Linked DNA regions of Homo sapiens: region 1 is linked to region 2. Evidence: promoter capture Hi-C in human tissues and cell types (Jung and others, 2019). All regions are on one chromosome and are shown on one strand. The core of a region is centred on a gene start or on the middle of the fragment in contact, and the rest is flanking DNA. Distances in the headings are between cores, read along the strand shown.

What was found. Contacts are between HindIII fragments. The study calls those that stand out against the background at their distance.
Region 1: a fragment that was not itself captured here is called in contact with the fragment with the promoter of SAMD14 in region 2 in 1 of the 25 tissues and cell types used here (bladder).

The regions. Positions count from the first base shown.
Region 1 is chr17:50,262,406-50,267,275 of GRCh38, reverse strand. LOC105371822 (a long non-coding RNA gene) reads right to left here. Exons shown (of 6, transcript XR_007065844.1): 6 at 4,387-4,474. Among named protein-coding and RNA genes, the nearest start is that of TMEM92, 9.6 kb to the left of the region's middle. The HindIII fragment of the contact is 6,379 bases long and covers 1-4,870 here.
Region 2 is chr17:50,128,284-50,132,642 of GRCh38, reverse strand. SAMD14 (sterile alpha motif domain containing 14) reads left to right here and starts at 2,483. Exons shown (of 10, transcript NM_001257359.2): 1 at 2,483-3,126. RefSeq lists an enhancer at 1-233 and silencers at 2,388-2,467, 2,708-2,767. The HindIII fragment of the contact is 12,261 bases long and covers 143-4,359 here.

The DNA.
Region 1 (4,870 bases), core at 558-3,057, 140 kb before region 2:
TGAGCACGACTTCTCTTCCAGGCTGGGGCTGAAAGGGTGGCGCACAGACAAAGTGAGCCCCTCCCCATCAGCCTTCCCTGCCTGGAGGGTGGGAGGGGGGCAGTTTGGGAGGGACCCCTGTACTAGGGGCTAAAGCTAAATCTGGTGCCAACTCTGCCCCCTCATGGGGGCAAAACCTCATTCTGTGGCAGCACTGAACGAGTGGGGTGAGGCGGCAGGGCCCCTGGGTAGAAATGTCCTTTTCTGCCTGTCCACTCCAGGCAGCTGTGCCCGACCTGAGCCTGGGTTGCTGAGTGGGACAGGGTGGTCCTGTGCCCGGAGTCAGGTTGTCAGGCCTCCAGGACTGTAGGTTTCCTCTACGGAAGGGCCCCTTCCCTGCGGGCTTTGATGTGTCTGCGAGGTTCGTGGAGGATGTTTGGCTTCAGGGCCCAGTGCCAGGATAAACTCCCTCTGCCTGCTGGGCCAAACCACTACCTCCTCCCTGCCTGGCTCTCCTGCCTCCCCCAGCCTTGGGCCTGGCCTCCTCCAAGGCTAGCACTGCCCTGCCTGCTTACTGCGGTGGGCACCAAGACGCCACTGTTACTGCTACTGGGGAGAGACCTGTGGGCAATCCTGGTCCCCAAGGCTGGCCCAGCAGTGCCTGCTGCTAGGTAACCGAGGTCCTGCTCCAGGTGGGGGATGCTGGACCCCAACTGCCAGCAGGGATGGGGATGAGATGGAGCAGGGGGGAGGGGGTGTCTACGTGGAGCTGCTTGCACAGGCTTCAGCTCTTCCAGATGTGCAGAGGTTCCAGATGTGGGGATGACTCAGCCCGGAATGAGGAGGGGTGGGCGGTGCATGGGGGAATGGTGAGCAGGGGGATCTGAGGCCCTGAGCAGCTGCCAGCTGCTGCCTCCTGTCCTCCGGAATTTGCAGCCCCTCAAAACCCCAGAGGTGGGCGAAGTGGTATTTAATAGCTGCTGGGAGCTGCCCATATGTGTGGCCCTCAAGTGTCCCACCATGTGCTGGGAAAGAGACCTCAGGGCCAGGGGCTCAGCTAGGAGAGAGAGAAAGGGAGAAAGTGGAAGGCGGGCAGAGGAAGTGGGAGGAGGACCGAGAGTGGCAGGGAGGACGGAGAGTGGGAGGGGCAGGGAGAAGCCCAGGACTAAAATGGTGGCCCCTACTTGGGCCCACTTTCAAGTGTGGCACTGGGAGGAGAGTGTATTGGTTCAGAGGACTGTGTGTGTGTGTGCGCACGTGTGCGTGTGTGCACGCATGCAAGCAAATGTGACCTTGCTGCTGGAGTGGAGGTTATGCGGGTGGAGAAGGAGCTGTGTTGGGTGAGCATTGTGTGTCTGGTGTGTGTATGCTGCGTTTGTGAGCTGGGTGCTGGATGATGTGTATGTTGGGTGTGGCAGAGTGCAGGAGCATGTTCTATACCATCTGTGTGATAGAGAAGGACTGTGGGTACAGCGACTGTGTAGTGATGGGCTGTGATGGGGAAAGGGTGTTTGTTTATGCCAAGTTACATGTGCCTTTGGATGCAGAAGGTGGGTCCCACAAACCTGGGGAGTTGAGTGGCATCTGGGCCTATCAGACCAGGACCCCAAAGACCTGGGGCTTCCTTCAGCCTCCCCTGGGGGGCCTTGGGGACCAGTGTCCAGCATCCTGGAGCTGTGGTTTCTCCTGCTGGGCCCTGGGCCATATGGTCTCCCTTGCAGGGCAGCTGGGAGACCCCTGAGCTTCAGAGGCTGGCACCCTGCAAACTGCAGTGCAGGGTGTGCGGCGGGCAAGGTGCCTCCCTCCCCATCCTGGAGAGCTGCTGTCCTGGCCTCCTCTCTGGCCTGCAGGGGAGTCTGCTGGCAGGGCCACCAGCTGCTCCCTGGAGAGGCCCACCTGTGCCAGCCACCCTTGCCAGGGTAAACAGGGCACTAAGTGTCTGGGCTGGTGCCTGCCTCAGGCTGGGCATTGCCTCTCCACACAGGGCTCAGCTCCCAGTTGTGGCTTGGGTTGCCTCCTCCAGCTAAATGACAGGCCTGATGCCCCAGGCCCCATAAACAGTGTTTTCTTGGGAGGTGGGGATCATGGGGGCTGCTGAGCAGACAGATAATCAAGTTGGATTGGGAAGACAGCATGTTGACTCCTCTAAGGCGAGGAAGGCTTTTGTGACCCTTTCCCAGTGCTGCGGGGTCCTTGCCCCTTTTGGGTGACACTGGTTGAATCCTCTGTTATTCTCCCAACACACACACACATACTCACACTCACACACCACCAGCCCTCCGCTCCAGGTTGTCGGCATCAATTTACTTGTGAGTGCAAACAAGCGGTGGCTGGGATCTGGTCAGCTGGTCCTGTGCTGTGTGTCCCCTCTGTTCACAATCCAAGGCTGAAGCCTGCAGAGGTTGGGGCCCGTCTCTAAATCGCTGCATGACGGTGTGCACTTGGATGTGTACCTGGCCCTCCAGACACTGTGATGCTGCCACCCAGCCCTGCCCCATTCCCTGGACATCTCTGTGGCCGGCTCTTTCTCGGTCCACCTCCTTGCCGCCCCCTCCACCCTCCCCTCCCTGTGACTGACTCAGAGTGAGAGGAGCCTCTGGTTCCTCAGCCCTGCCTCTGACTCCCCTCCAGGCTCCTACCCCCAGCGCAACCTCACAGGGAGGAGGAGCCCTAGCTCCACCCCTTTGAAGCAAAGCCCCCTCAAGGGGACGGGAGGAGCGGGCAGGTAGAGGCTGGACCTGGGGGAGCCAGGTCTGCTGGCCAAGGAGCAGGCTTCCAGAGAGGGCACTGAGCAGGGGCCAGGCTGCCTGAAATAGAGGGGCGTGCAAGGATGGCAGGGAGCAGGAGGACGCTCTGCAGACACCTGAGCCCGCCAGCAGCCGGGGAGCAGGCATCTGGGCCCAGCCACCCACTGCTAGTCTTGAGGAGGGAGGCAGTGGAGGAGCGGCGGGTGTCCTCCTGGGCAGCCAGCAGAGGCCCTGCCCCCACTTCACTGCGGTGGGGTGGAGAACAGAGAGAGCGGTGCGGTGCGGAGCCCACAGGGCTACCACAGCGGGCCCTGTGGGTAGGAAGGGGGTGCTGCCATCCTGGGGCTCTGGAAGCACCCCTTCCCCACTCTCCCTCCCTCTGTCATTGCCCACCTCTGTTTCTGTCTCTGTCCTTCACTCTGCCGCTTCTTTGTGTGTGCCTGTCTTTCTCTATCTTCCACTCTCTTCTCCCTTTTCTCCTCTCCCTCCCCCTCTCTCTTTTCCCTAAGGGGAGCAGCTCCAGTATCTGGGGCCAGCTTCCCAGAATGGAAGGTGGCTTTGTCCAGGGAGAGGGAGGCCCCTGACCCAAGCCTGTGGTCTCAAAACAGCCACATCCGGCTCCCCACTTCTTTGCCCAGACCCTCCTGCAGGACCTCTCTGTGCCTGGGAGTCCTTGAAGCCAGAGCCCATTCTGCTTTGCCAGGTGGTATGGGAGCCCCAGTGCCCCCATATTCAGAACTGCTTGTCTCAGCAACGGGGATGAAGGCAATCTCTCTCTCTCTTCTCTCTCTCTCTCTCTGTCTCTCTCATCCCCAAGAAGGCAATGCTCTGGGTGGCTGAGAGGCTGGAGTCTGAGCCCCATCGCTGGGTGACCAGATACCCCGTGTGCCCAGGACAGTTCAGACCTATGTCATTGCCTGGGTGTAACTGCTACGAGCACTCCAAAGTATCCTAGTTTGGACTAAAAATTACATCCCCCATGGCCAGTCAGACCCTGGCAAGGCTCACAGCCTCTCCCACTCCCTTCACCCTCCCAAGACAGCTGTATAGCCTGCTTGGGCCTCACTCAAGGACAACAGGGCCAGAGAGCAAACAGGGGAGCAGGAGCTGTATAAATAGCCCATTTTGGGGGAGCCCCCTCAGCACGGTGTCGGGCGGGTCTGCTTGCTGGAGAGGGAGGAAGGAGAACTGTGGTTGCCCCCAAGCAGCATGTAATTTAGGATTTATTTTGGGGCACTCTCTATAGCTCGGGGTGGAGCTGAAGTTAATTTAAAGGTTTAATGGGGTCGGGGGCTGGATGGGGAGGAGGAGAGGGAAGCCCTCCCACATTTGGCCTGGCTGGGAAGAGGGTCCTTTGCCAGTTGCCTGCCAACTTCTATCCCTGGGTCTGTTCCTGGGAGGTTTCTAGGACACCTCAGCTCTTGTTCCCAGATGCTCCATGCCTCTCCCTGAGTCTCAGGGTGCTTCTAGCCTGATGGAGAAGCTGGTTCTACCTTTGTCTGATGGAGCAGGCACAGGCTCTGCCCTCAGGGAGCCCTCAGTCTGAGGGGAGACAGGACACAAGCCCGGCCTTCAGAGTGGCCAGTCATGATGGCATCCCCCATCATGATTTTAATTTTTAGTCTTTACTTGTTCACGACTCTATATCTGTGTCTCTTCCTGGAACTTAAGATCCGTGACAGCAGGGACTTCTATCTGCCTCTCACAGCATCTTCGGCACTTGTCTAGCACCAAGCAAGCAATATTTCCTGAATGAATGAATGAATGAATGAACTGGGAAACAGCACCAGATCTGAAAGCCCCACGTCAAGAGGCAGCAGTGGATAAACTCTAAAGTCCTTCCGCATTCCAGCCTGTGTGATGTGGCCCTCCACCTTGCCGCCTCCCACCCCTCTGGCCACACTCTTCAGCCACCAGCCACTATGAGCACTGGCTGCCCTGGTGTCAGCCCCAGTTCCCACCTCCACCCCTTTCCTCACCGCACTCCCTCTTCCTGCAACTGCCTTTGCTCCCATTGCCACATGACTAAATCCTGCCAGTCCTTCAAGGCCCTACGCAGAGTCACCTCCAGGAAGCCCACTCAGATCCCTCCACTGGATCTAAACGTCCATAGCTTTTTCTCTGGGCCTCTTCTCTCACTGTGT
Region 2 (4,359 bases), core at 1,234-3,733:
AAGGTGTCTGATCCCCAAGATCAGAGACCACCAAACCACAGGGTCAGAGGTCATGGCTCCAGAGTTAGAAGTCACTGAACCCCAGGGCCACCAAGGCCCTGCTCAGGAAACCTAGCCAAGAAGTGAAGTGGCATGACCTTCCTGTAATCTGTAGTCTTAATCTGGGTGGGGAGGCAGGCATGAAGGTTTCGAGGGTTTCTGCTGGGCCGATGGGGGCTAAGCATCCAGGGCGGGGTCCCTCTGTCCCTCCCCCACTCCCCGTCTGTCCTGTGTGTTAGGTGAGGGGCCTATACATAGTATGTTTCAAACAGTGGGCCAAGTAACCCCTCACATTTAAGCCCAAGTGTGTTGTGTGCCTGGAGGTGTGTGTGGCTTTGCTGTGAGTTTCTCAAGCCTGAGCTGTGACTTGCCCATGATACACAGTATGTCCATGTTTGGGACTTTGTCAAGTAGCTGTAAGTGGGCCTGTCACCTTAAACCCTCCTTATCCCCCCACTCACTTGCCCAATTTTGGAAGCTTGAGTAGGTTTGCCAACACTTGCCAATAAGGCAACTTATTGCCAACCCTCAGAAGCTTAGGCCTCACTAGGAATAGGGGAACAGGGGCTCCTCCTGGGTCCTATGGCCTGGCAAACATACCCATCATCTCCCCACCCCCTTGGGATGTACAGGGTCTATATAATCAAGCCCCCCACTACAGCCCACCACTCAGATCTCACCAGATGCCTACAAAGCACAACCCCTTTAAGACAGCCAGATGCAGCCCCCACAGCTGTCAACAGAAACCCCACCCCTTCCCCAGATTTCCACAATCTAGCCTCATGGCTGCCAGAAGATTCTGAAGACACCCAGAGACCCCCAAACTCCTATAAATCCCCTAGGATACCCTCAGACCCTAAAGGCTGTTAATTCTGTCCTCACTCATAGTCACAAGATTGTCCTGGTTCAACAGGCCACTTCCCGGAGGCCTCGGACTGCAGAGTCCTGTGGGCCATCAGGGAACTCTGTCCTATAGACTCCACACCTCTCCTCTGACTCTAGACCCCTGATCCAGCTTCACCACTTGCCTTTTTTTTTTTTTTTTTTTTTTTTTTTTTTTTTTTTTTTTGAGATTTGAGTTTCACTCTGTTGGCCAGGCTGAAAGGCAGTGGCACAATCTCAGCTCACTCCAACCTCCACCTCCCAGGTTCAAGCAATTCTCATGCCTCAGCCTCCAGAGTAGCGCCACCATGCCTGACTAATTTTTGTATTTTTAGTAGAGACAAGGGTTTCACCATGTTGGCCAGGCTGGTCTCGAACTCCTGACCTCATGTAATCCACCCACCTTGGCCTCCCAAAGTGCTGGGATTACAGTCGTGAGCCACTGCGCCTGGCCTTTCACCACTTGCTCTTGAGCAAAGCACTTTCCTTCTTCTAAGTCTCTGTTTTCTCTGAGGCAGTGGGTAATGGAAACACCCACCTTGTGGGTTTATTGTGAGGGTGACAATAGATGATCTGAGAGCGCCTGGCACCTGCCAAGCTGTGACGTGCGGTAGCTGGTTGTGGATCCCTACATTGCCTCCCTGGCTGGCCTGCCACTACCATCAGCGCACTGGGTCCAAGTCTGATCTCATCCGTCCCCACCCCCACCTGCTCCAGGGCTTCCTGCCTCAAGCCAAGGTCCACAGCCATCCTAGACCCCTCCTCCCTCACCTCCTAGTCCAGCAGGTCCCCAAATCCTGTCAGCTTCTTCGGTGTCAGCTTCTTCAGGCCTGCATCCTGAAGGGCTCTCAGCTTAATCTGTAATCTTTATGCCCACTGCCACCGGCCCTCAATAGCCTCCAGCGGGTCTCCCTGCCTTCAGAGTGCCCTCTGTAACCCTGTCTCCAGGGGAGCCAAGGGTGCTTCCTAAATGCACACCTGAGCCCCTCCCTCCTCTTAATTTTGTGTGTGTGCGCGCGCGCGCGTGTGTGTGTGTGTGTGTGTGTGTGTGTGGGCGGCGGGGTGGGCGGCTGGTAGAATAAAGTGCAAGCCCCCTGCACCTCCCCAGCTTCAATTTATCTTCCCCTCTTGCCCTCCCACCCCCAACACCCCCTGGCACTTCCCTACCCTGGCCCGCAGTTGTAGCCAACACATCACATCCTCTGGGAATCCCCCAGCCCAGCTCCCGCCGCGGCCGCCTGGACCCAGGCCGGGCCAGGGGTGCGCTCTCCCTTCCGGCAAGAAGTGCCCTCTGTTAGCTGGGCCCATGGCGCCCAGGCTCGTGAGGGCCTCCCCACTCGTCTGAGCCCCCGACTGGCCCACTGGCCTTGAGCGCAGTTAGGGGGCGGGGGTTCTGTTCACCGCTGTCCCCTCCAGCCTCGGCGCCCCGGCTGCTCGGCGGACGTTTGTTGAATGAATGAACTAATCGGGAGCCCTGATGGACCCGGCAGAGGAGGCGGAAGCCCCGTGGGTCCCGTGGCGGGACCGCCCCGGAGCCGCTCCCACCCGCGCAGACTCCGGTGCGCCGCGTCTCCCGCGGGCAGAGAAGTAGCTGCAACTCCGCTCCCCGGCCCCAGCCGCCTCCTCCCCGCCGCCCTCCCCCGCCCCCGCCCCCTCGCTCCCTCCCGCTCTTTGTCTCCTGGGCGCCCGGCTTCTCCGCCACGCGCCCCCCACCCCGACGCCCCTTCCCCGGAGACCCCCGCGGACCCCTGCCGACGCGACGCCGCGCGAATCGGCCCTGCCAGGCGGGGGCCCCGCGTCCGGCCAGGCCTGGCGGGCGGCAGGGGCGGGGAGGGAGGTGGCGCTCGCTCTTCGCTCTTCTCTCTCTCTCTCTCTCTGTCACACACACACACACGCACACGCACACGCACACACACACGGAGCATCCTCCCGTCAGGTCTCCTGGTCCAGCCCCGCCCGCGCCTCCTGCTTCCAGCGAACCTGTTCCCTCTCCCCACATCCCCCGCCCTCCATCTCCCCCGGCTCTGGGACCCTTCCCGCCGACCTCACCCCCACCCCCGGGATGGAGCGGCTCGAGCCCGCCCGGAGCCCCCCGCGGCCGGGGTGACGGTCCCCCCACCCCTCTCCTGCCCGGCCCCCGCCTCGAGCACCATGGGCCTGAGGGGTTCCCGGGGCGCCAGACGCTGAAGATGACCGATGCCGGAGGTGAGGGGCCGGGCGCCCTGGGGTGGACCGGGAACTGGGGCTAGGGCCACTCGGGCCCGCGGTGGGACCCTGAGTGGGGTTGGGCAGGGCTAAGCGACAAGGGCCTTTCTTCCCCTATCCCTAGGGGGACCGCACGGGGCTGGGGTGCCGGGCTGTCAGGGGAGGGGGCGGAGATAGGATTTATGGCCCTAATCCCCTCCCTCCCGCCCGACGCCCGGAGAAATTAATAAAAAGCTGGTGTGGGGGGAGGGGGAGAGGGCTTAACTCTTTCTTGCCCGGCGGGGAGTTGTGCTGATGGTTTGGAGAGAAACTAGCCACCGGGCTCTGACTGGGGAGAAGGGCTCTGAGAGTGGAGTAGGTGCCCTGTCCCCAACCTCACCCCATCTCCAACAGTGCTTTGAGGGGGTGCCCGACTCCTGAGGACTACCCCAAGCCTGGGGCCAGTGGACGGCCGGCGATATGGGAAGGGGGGACCACCTCTCTGGCTCCACAACTGCCTCCCCGACCGCTAGTCTCCTTTCCCATCCACCTCTTCCCGGCCTCTCCCAGTTGCACTTCTCTCTGTCGCTTTCTCCTCTTCAGGGGCCCTTTCCTATCGCCTGCCCGAAGGGCTTCTCCCTTCTCTCCCACCCTCGGGCGTCACTTAGAGCGGCGGAAGCCCTTGTTCCCAGTGCCAGTTCCCGTGGCCCCACTCTCGGTGTGATCTCTTTCTTCTCAGCAGCCCTGTGGACTCTCCGCCAGTTTGTGTGTCTGTCTCTGCTTCTTCCTACTCCTCACTTCCTTCCGCTCCCGCTCCCGCTCCCTCCCCAGGAATTGTGCGCCCTTTCTTCCTTTCTCCTTCTCCTGGGTCCCAAGAGGCTGTGAGCTCACCTGCCTCCCTTTCTCCCAGAGAAGGGTCAAAGGTCATTGGTGCTCCTTCTCCAGGATTGGAAGCCTTGGGGGGAAGGGTATCCAGAGGAACCGGTTCAATCCCACCCTTGTGCAGTTACCTGGCTGAATGGGGGTGTGTGTGTGTGTGTGTGTGTGTGTGTGTGAGAGAGTGTGCGGGGTGTGTGTGGGAGTGAGAGTGGGGGCGGGTTTGGTGTCTAATTTTTCTAGGCTCAGTTTTGGAAGGAGAGGGTTGGGTGGGAGGGGTCTGGTGACCCCCTGGACACAATGTAGGGAGGGTCCCCCTACACACCCCAGAAAGTTAGTTGTTGAAGGGAAGAAAAGAGAGCAGTTTGTGCTGAATCA